Linked DNA regions of Homo sapiens: region 1 is linked to region 2. The links are contacts of gene promoters, found by promoter capture Hi-C in human tissues and cell types (Jung and others, 2019). All regions are on one chromosome and are shown on one strand. The core of a region is centred on a gene start or on the middle of the fragment in contact, and the rest is flanking DNA. Distances in the headings are between cores, read along the strand shown. Region 1 overlaps ASXL3 (ASXL transcriptional regulator 3). Region 2 holds the start of ASXL3 (ASXL transcriptional regulator 3).

Region 1 (3,979 bases), core at 609-3,108, 150 kb before region 2:
GTGTGGTATGAAAGAGGGCAGGCAAGGCTGATATCAAGAATTTTTGGACTTAGGAATGAAACGTAGAAAACTGCTAATTAGTTTTTAAAAGACAAGACTATAGGCAGAGGAGGTTTGTTTTAGCACTACATCAGGTTGAGATGCTGATTATAATTCCCAGTAGATGTCTTCCATATGTTACTCCTACTGCAGTGTAGAGGATGCCCTGGACAAAGGCAAGACTAAGACAGGGATTTCTGTTAACTAGCATCAAGAGCAAGCGGAACCAATGATGAAAAGTCTTAAGATTGTTCAGGTAGAGGAAACAGAGAGGAAGGAGAATATTCAAGATAAGTATACAAACCAGAATTGATGGCACTGAGTGATCACTGGGGCTGAGAAAGATGAGACAAAAAGATGTGGAAGATGCTTCCCAGGAATAAGGCTTGCTAACTGAGTACATGCTGGCACCAAACATCAGAACAGGAAAAGGCACAAGAGGGAAACAGTATTTAGAAACAAGAAATGAAGGCTTTGGATATGTTGATGTAAGGATATCTTGATGGCATCCAAATAAAGATGTCTAGTCAGTAACTGAGAATAGGGCAAGATGCTCAATGGTAAATATTGTTTTCAAATAGGAATGATTAGCAAATAAAGTGTAGTTGGAAACATGGGTATAGATGAGAACATTGGAAGAATATTTACCAAAAGAGAAGGTGGCTTAAAGCAGAGTCCTGAGGAATACTAATGTAACAGGAATGAGGAGGTAAAGTAGATCCTGTTAGGAAGACTAAGCAAAAGTAGAAAGAGGTAGGAAGAAAATCGGAGCAAGTGGCATCATATTGATAGGTGTAAGGGAAGAATGTGTTTGCAGAAGGTGATCTGTATTGTGGATGTGCTAATATCTATCAAGCCTTTTAGCATTACTAAGGTAAACAGTGTGTGCAGTATAGTACATTAGCTGTTGTGTCCAATACAAAAATCAATAGGATCTTTAGAGCAAAGACAACCCAGACAGTGAGACACTAATCAGGAGTCTAATACAATACAAAAGAGCAATGAGCATATGAACCATCATATGCTGTTATCATTGAGCCACTTATACCCTGCATGATCAAGCACCCAGTGCCCTTGTAGTCTACATCCCAGTACGAATAAAAGCCAGAGTATTGACTCTCTTTAAAAGGTAAATTTTAATTTTTTCCTTACCACTAAGTATAATTCAGATGGCCCAGGAGACTCTATAGACATGCTCAAGATTTATCCACAAGGGAAAATATTATTCTTTAGAATAACATAAAGATAGGCATAAAAATGAAAGAAGGCTGTTAAAAGGGATGGATTCCCTAAAGGAGATAGATCAGCAATATGCCAAAGACAATTTTGCAAATAACTTTTCAAAGATATTTCCAAAATTGCAGTAAGACAATATTACCAAAATTGTGTTTTGCAAAATAGGTATTTTAATAGGTAAATCCATCTAAAAGAAATGCAGTCTTCCATACAATAAATATAGCCTGACTGTATTAAATATGGTTAAGTAGTTTCATTTACTGTATTATCTAATATGCTAAAATTTATTTTAAATTCTGAAGAATAAATTATACAGTATTTCCCACACTTTTATACTTTATAATCCTCTCACAGAACAACCATCAGTATCTCATAGAACAACTATTCCCCAGAATAGTTTGGGAACTGATGCATTAAGAGTTGTAAAAGTATCACTGACAGAAACAGCCACATGTGATAAGCATGAGACAATGAATTTCCCCATGCTAGAGACTATATTCCTCTTTAACAAATGAATATAAGTTTCTAAGATCTGAAAATGGGACAATTTTGAGAATATTGTGAGAACCAAGTATTCAGAATAAATAGTGACAAAATATTAAAGATGATGTAATAAACTTTAACCTACAAGCTTGAACAACCTCAAGTTCAAAGCCACTGAAGGAAACAATTCTTTGCAACCACTGTCAAAAAAGTCCTAATATATATAATAATTTTTTAAATATTGTGATTATAATGCTGTAATCAAGACTCTATCTAGTCATATGAGGACTCAATAAAAAATGTTATACAGGCATATCACAAAGACATTGCAAATTCAGTTCCAAACTACGACAATAAAGTGAATGTTGCAAAAAAGTAAGTCACATAAACGTTTTGGTTTCCCAGTACATATAAAAGCTATCACTATACTGTAGTCTATTAACTGTACAATAGCATTATGCTAAAAATCAATTTACATACCTTAATTAAAAATACGTTATTACTTAAAATGATAACAGTAATCTGAGCTTTCAGTGAGTCATAATCTTTTTGCTGACGGAGGGTCTTGCATGGATGTTGATGGCTGCTGACTGATCAGGGTGGCTGGTGGCTGCTGAAGGCTGGAATGGCTATGATAATTGCTTAAAATAAGCTGACAATAAAATTTGCTGCATTAGTTGACTCTTCCTTTCCCAAAAAACTTATCTGTAGCATGTGATGCTGTTTGATAGCATTTTGCCCATAGCAGAACGTCTTTCAAAATTGGAGTCAATTCTCTTAAACTCTGCCGCTGCTTTATCAACTAAGCTTATGGAATATTCGAAGTCCTTTGTTTTTACTTCAACGATGTTCACAGCTATCTTAACCCAGAGTCAATTTCATCTCAAGAAACCACTTTCTTTGCACATAAGAAGCAACCCCTCACTTGTGAAAGTTTCATCCTAAGATGGCAACAACTCAGTCACATCTTCAGGCTCTACTTCTAATTCTAGTTCTCTTGCTATTTGCACCACATCTGCAGTGACTTCCTCCACTGAAGTCTTGAACTCCTCAAAGTCATCTATAAGTATCAGAATCAACTTCTTTCAAAGTCCTGTTAATGTTGCTATTTTGACCTCCTCCCACGAATCACAAATGTTCTTAATGGCATCCAGAATGGTGAATTCTTTCCAAAAGACTTTCAATTCACCTTGCTCAGAACCATCAGAGGAATCACTACCTATGGCAGCCACAGCCTTAGAAAATGCATTTCTTAAATAATAAGACTTGAAAGTCAAAATTACTCCTTGATCCATATGCTGCAGAATAGGTATTGCATTAGTAATATGAAAACATTATTCTCTTTTTACATCTCTGTCAGCTTCTTCAGTGACCCCACTGCATTGTCAATGAGCAGTAATATTTTGAAAAGAATATTTTTTCTGAGCAGTAAGTCTCAACAGCGGACTTAAAATATTCAGTAAGCCATGTTGTAAACAGATGTGCTGTCACTCAGGCTTTACTGTTCCATTTACAGAGCAAAGGCAGAATAGATTTAGCATAATTCTTAAGGGCTGTAGGATTTTTGGAATGGCAAATGAGCACTGGTTTCCACTTAAAGCCACCAGCTGCATTAGCACCTAACAGAAGGGTAAGCCTATCCTTTCAAGCCAGGCATTGACTTCTCCTCTCTAGCTATAAAAGCCCAATGGCATCTTTTTCCAATTTCATCTACATTGAAAATCTGTTGTTTAACATAGCCACCTTCATCAATAATCTTAGCTAGGTCTTCTGAATAACTTGCTGTGGCTTCTACATCAGCCACTGCCGTTTCACCTTGCACTTTTAGGTTATAGAGATGGCTTCTTTCCTTAAGCCTCATGAGCTAATCTCTGTTAGCTTCCAAGTTCCCTTCTAGCACATCTTCACCTCTCCAAGCTTTCAGAGAATAAAAAAGAGTTAGGGGCTTGCTCTATAGTAGGCTCTGGCTTAAAGGAATATTGTGGCTGATTTGATCTTCTAGCCAGACCACTAAAACTTCCTCCATATCAACAATAAAGGTGTTTCACTTTCTCATCATTTGTGTGTTCAGTGCAGTAGCACTTTTAATTACCCTCAAGAACTTTTCCTTTCCATTCACAACTCGGCTAATTATTTGGTGCAAGAGGCCTAACTTTTGGCCTATCTCAGCTTTCAACATGCCTTCCTCATTACTAAATGTAATCATTTCTAGTTTTTGATT
Region 2 (4,047 bases), core at 368-2,867:
GCTCCCCCCTCCCAAAACCCCCGCTGCATGCAGTCTGCTTTCTTTTGGCCAATTTATAACAGATAGTAAGCTGGCGAATAAATGTTTAATTTATGCAGCCAAAACCCTGAAAGGCTTAGCTTCAAATGTAATGCCTGGCATTCCCGAGACACACTGTACAGAAATATCCTTTTGAAAAATCCTTTTACAGCTGTCCTTTAAAAGAAGATAGGAAGAAAAAAGAAAGAAAGAAAAGAAAAACCCACACATATACATGCATCAAACCAAAGACGCCGACGCCCCTCTGCCAACCGGCATTTCTATAGAGACATTCTTTCGATGATTAAAACGTAAGCTCCGAAAGGTTAAAGAAAAGGAAAAGCAGCCAAGTAACACCGCCCAGGAAGCCAGCAGTAAAATACACCTAGCTGTACACTCTTAATAACCTCCCACTACAAATGACACTGACCCAACTTCACCAAACACACACACACCCGAAACACACTCACAAATTGCACACACGTGCACAGAATGTACACACAAACATCGAGCAGAGCACAATACCTACAAACACAAACGAACTGGAGCCACACAAAACATGCACGTATCAGTGTGCACACATAATGCACACGACATGGCACACAGACACGCAACCACCTAGCCCACATGCACACGCCCCACAAGTCCGTGTCGGACACACACCATGCATGCACGTGTAAAATGTTTGAACTCACAAACGCCGAACATACACACAGACTGTGCACAGAGTTATTGATGAAATTCCGGGGGGTGGAGGGGCCGGGAGGGAGTGGTAATTGCCACACAAAGGTCTCCGGAGCGGCAGAGAGGGAAGTCGAGCTGCGCCGAGCGCTCGGAAATTCACCCGTGGAGAAGGCACAGCAGAGCCCCGAGAGCGAAGTACGGGGAGAAGTGTCCCGGGCGGTCCCGGACGCGGGGCTCCCGGAGATAATCGCTGCGCCCCTCCGCGCGCGCACGCACACACACAGGGGCCCCCGGGCGAGCCCACTCCCGCAGAATAACAAAGAGCAGGAGCCCGGCGAGCGGGCGGCGGCTCGGGCTGGAAGTGGCCGTCTCCGCCGCCGCGGACCGGCGCGGGGCGAGCGGCGGGGCCGGCGGGAGGCGCGGGCGGCGTGTGGGGGGCGGTACGTACCAGGCGGGCAGCCTCGGCCCAGGTGCGGTCCTTCTTCTTCCTCTTGTCTTTCATGTTTGCATCTCATTGATGGTTCTGATGATGACGTGGGGGATTCCACGGGGTGCTCGGGGTTCGGGCGCGGAGACAATGACCCAGTGACCCGGTGACCCGCACTCGCTCCGCGGGGGGAGGCGCGCGGGCGGTGGCGGCGGCGGCGGCGGCGGCGGCGGCGGCGGCGGCGGCGGGTGGGAGGGATGGAGCGAGGGGGTGGGGTGGAGTGGGTGGGGGCGCGCGACGGCGGCGGCGGCGGCGCGCGGCGGGCGGGCCGGGGGCGGGGGCGGCGGCAGCAGCGGGGCCCGGGCCAGGGGCGGGGGCGGCGCCGGCCGGGCTCGCTCGTGCGGGGCTCGCGCTGCGCCACCGCCGCGGCCGCTGCGGTGACAGCTCCGGGGATGCTCCGCTCGGCCCCGCTCACAACAATACACTCTGACGTCACGGGGAATGGCGACGCGGCCGCACACTCACCGCGCTCACACTCGCCGCGCTCACACTCGCCCTCTCGCGCGCGCACACCCGTGCACACTCGCCGCGCGCCCCCTACTCCAGCCACGCCCTGAAACCCTCGCGAGACCCCTCTCCCTCCAACTCAGCCCCCAAATTCCTGGGGCGCTGCCCACTCCGTGCAGGCCGTTCCACCCGCTTCCCGCTGTCCCGCTCAGGCCGAAAGCCGCGGACACGGTGGCCTTTGGAACTTGTGTAGGAGTCCGCCCCGCACCTCGACGCCTCTGTCCTGTGCGCTCACGCGTGCACACTCACTCACACACACACCGCACTACTCTCCTCTGTTGGACTGCCTTAACCCTGTCTCTGCTTGGCTGGGGGAACTCCCAGAGCCTTGTTGAAAGGGTACAGAGCCAGTGTCTTCGGATACAGAACTAATAATGTACGTGCAACTTAACACAATGTTGAACCACCTACAGCATCTCAAACAATGCAGGACCAAAGAGCCGTCACCGTGGATCCACGCGATGCCATACCGTAGGGCTAATTATATTTAAACAGCGTGTAGTCAACATTCTGTAGAGTAAAACATGATGCACATGGAAAAAACTGAAAAGCTAACGCTTGTGTATTTTTTAAATTATAATTTTCAGGTCTGGGATACATGAAGTGTTGGATTGTTATCCTTATTAGCGAACTACCAAAAAATATGTTAAGACTTAAAAGTTTATGGTAATCTTTCCAACTTCATACATCTCTAGTGAATTGTTTGGGTCAGTAGAGTTATTTAAGCAAAGAAAAAAATGACGCTGTGACCCACACAGTAATTATGTGTATTTGTCTTGAGTATCTGAAAACAAAAAGGTCACTTCTACTGGATTATTTTTCTGAAGTTATTTCCTGAATAGGATATTAATGGTATATAAATAGTACTTTGTGTTTTTTCATACACATTATATCGTTTGATCCCCAAAACAGCTCAGTTAAACATATATTTCCCCTCTACTGTACAAATGAGGAAATGAAACTCAAAAACATGACAATGTATCCAAGATATCTTGCTAAATCATTTTTAATAATTCAAGTCTTTTGACCCTAATCTCATGTTGTTTATTCAATTCTATACTGCCTGTTTAAAAATAGTCTTGTCTAAAAAATGAACACTTACATCTAATGAAGAGATTTATGTCTCAGAATGAGAACAATTATAGTAAGGTGATTCCTTTGAGAGCACTGTCAAATGATTGGAGTAATAAAAATGTTTGATTACCAAAAATTAAACAGAGACAGTTCATAATCATAAAGAGCTGCATATGATAATTCTTTTAGAATATTTGTTTTATTAATTCATTAGACTGAGAAAAGACTATGCATCAGTTTTAGAAAATATCAAAAGATTATCTGCACTTTTTCTTTTTTTAAAATGGATTTAGAGAACACGCTGAAGTTATCCCTAGGGGAAAATTTTATCCATGCAATTTGCATAATTCTATCCAGGTGTATTATATTTTTACTTTACATTTCAAATATATTAAATTTGAATCACGTTCACATCTGCTTTTATTTTCCAGAATTCTCTTTATGGCTAAAGTAATTGATATATTTTCAAAGTATTTTCATTCTAGTGTTTTTTCTTCTACTCAGAAATACCTATTTTAAGCAATCAGACATAACATATAATTTGTTATTTTCTGTGAAATAGTGCTTAATAAGGAGTTTTGGAGCCAGCTAAAGGAAAACATACATATTCAGTTATTTCACAGGAAGGCCAATTTCTGGTTATTAAGAGAAAATATATTGTCCTACTTAAGCAGATGTAAATTGATGTTTTAAAAAAAAAGCTATTGTTTATGCATTCATTCTCTGACAGAGAGCTAAGTATAAATAACCAATCTTATGAACTCACTCTTAGATTCTACCTCACCTTTTGGGTACTTGAATATAAATAGTCCATAGCAGGTAAGTCTGGTTAAAGACTTGGTGAATAGTCTATGTCAAATTAACATATTTTACAGAGCACCATTTCCAAGAGACCATTGTTAGACTTCTTTCTTCTACATTTACTTTGTGTCAGGGGGCAGGAAATAGATTAATCAATTACAGATGTTTTATAATTTGGTAAATTATATGAATAGCTTTTCAACATAAAGTGAAATACATTATAAGAAATGTACAAGTAAATTTCTGTGAAAATTAATGGGAGAAATAACTCTGCTGGGGAGATTAAATAAAGCTTTAGTAAAGAGAAGTTTTCAGGTGGGATTTGAGGAATGGGTAGGATTTGAATATTCACACTTGTAGGAATGGAGAAAAGCTTTTTCAAACACAAATGCAATAAAGGTCAGTCAGGACAATTGAAAACTAGGAAAATATTAAATTAGATAGATGACAACTACCAAGCACTGCTTACATTCAAT

The links. The method cuts DNA at HindIII sites, captures the fragments that hold promoters and counts their contacts. A contact is called where the count stands out against the background at its distance.
Region 1: a fragment that was not itself captured here is called in contact with the fragment with the promoter of ASXL3 in region 2 in 1 of the 25 tissues and cell types used here (bladder).

What each region holds. Positions count from the first base shown.
Region 1 is chr18:33,722,242-33,726,220 of GRCh38, reverse strand. The region is part of intron 8 of ASXL3 (ASXL transcriptional regulator 3); the gene reads right to left. Among named protein-coding and RNA genes, the nearest start is that of ASXL3, 150 kb to the right of the region's middle. The HindIII fragment of the contact is 5,250 bases long and covers 1-3,979 here.
Region 2 is chr18:33,575,789-33,579,835 of GRCh38, reverse strand. ASXL3 (ASXL transcriptional regulator 3) reads right to left here and starts at 1,617. Exons shown (of 12, transcript NM_030632.3): 1 at 1,151-1,617. The coding sequence starts at 1,204. RefSeq lists enhancers at 301-1,288, 1,289-2,277. The HindIII fragment of the contact is 10,160 bases long and covers 1-4,047 here.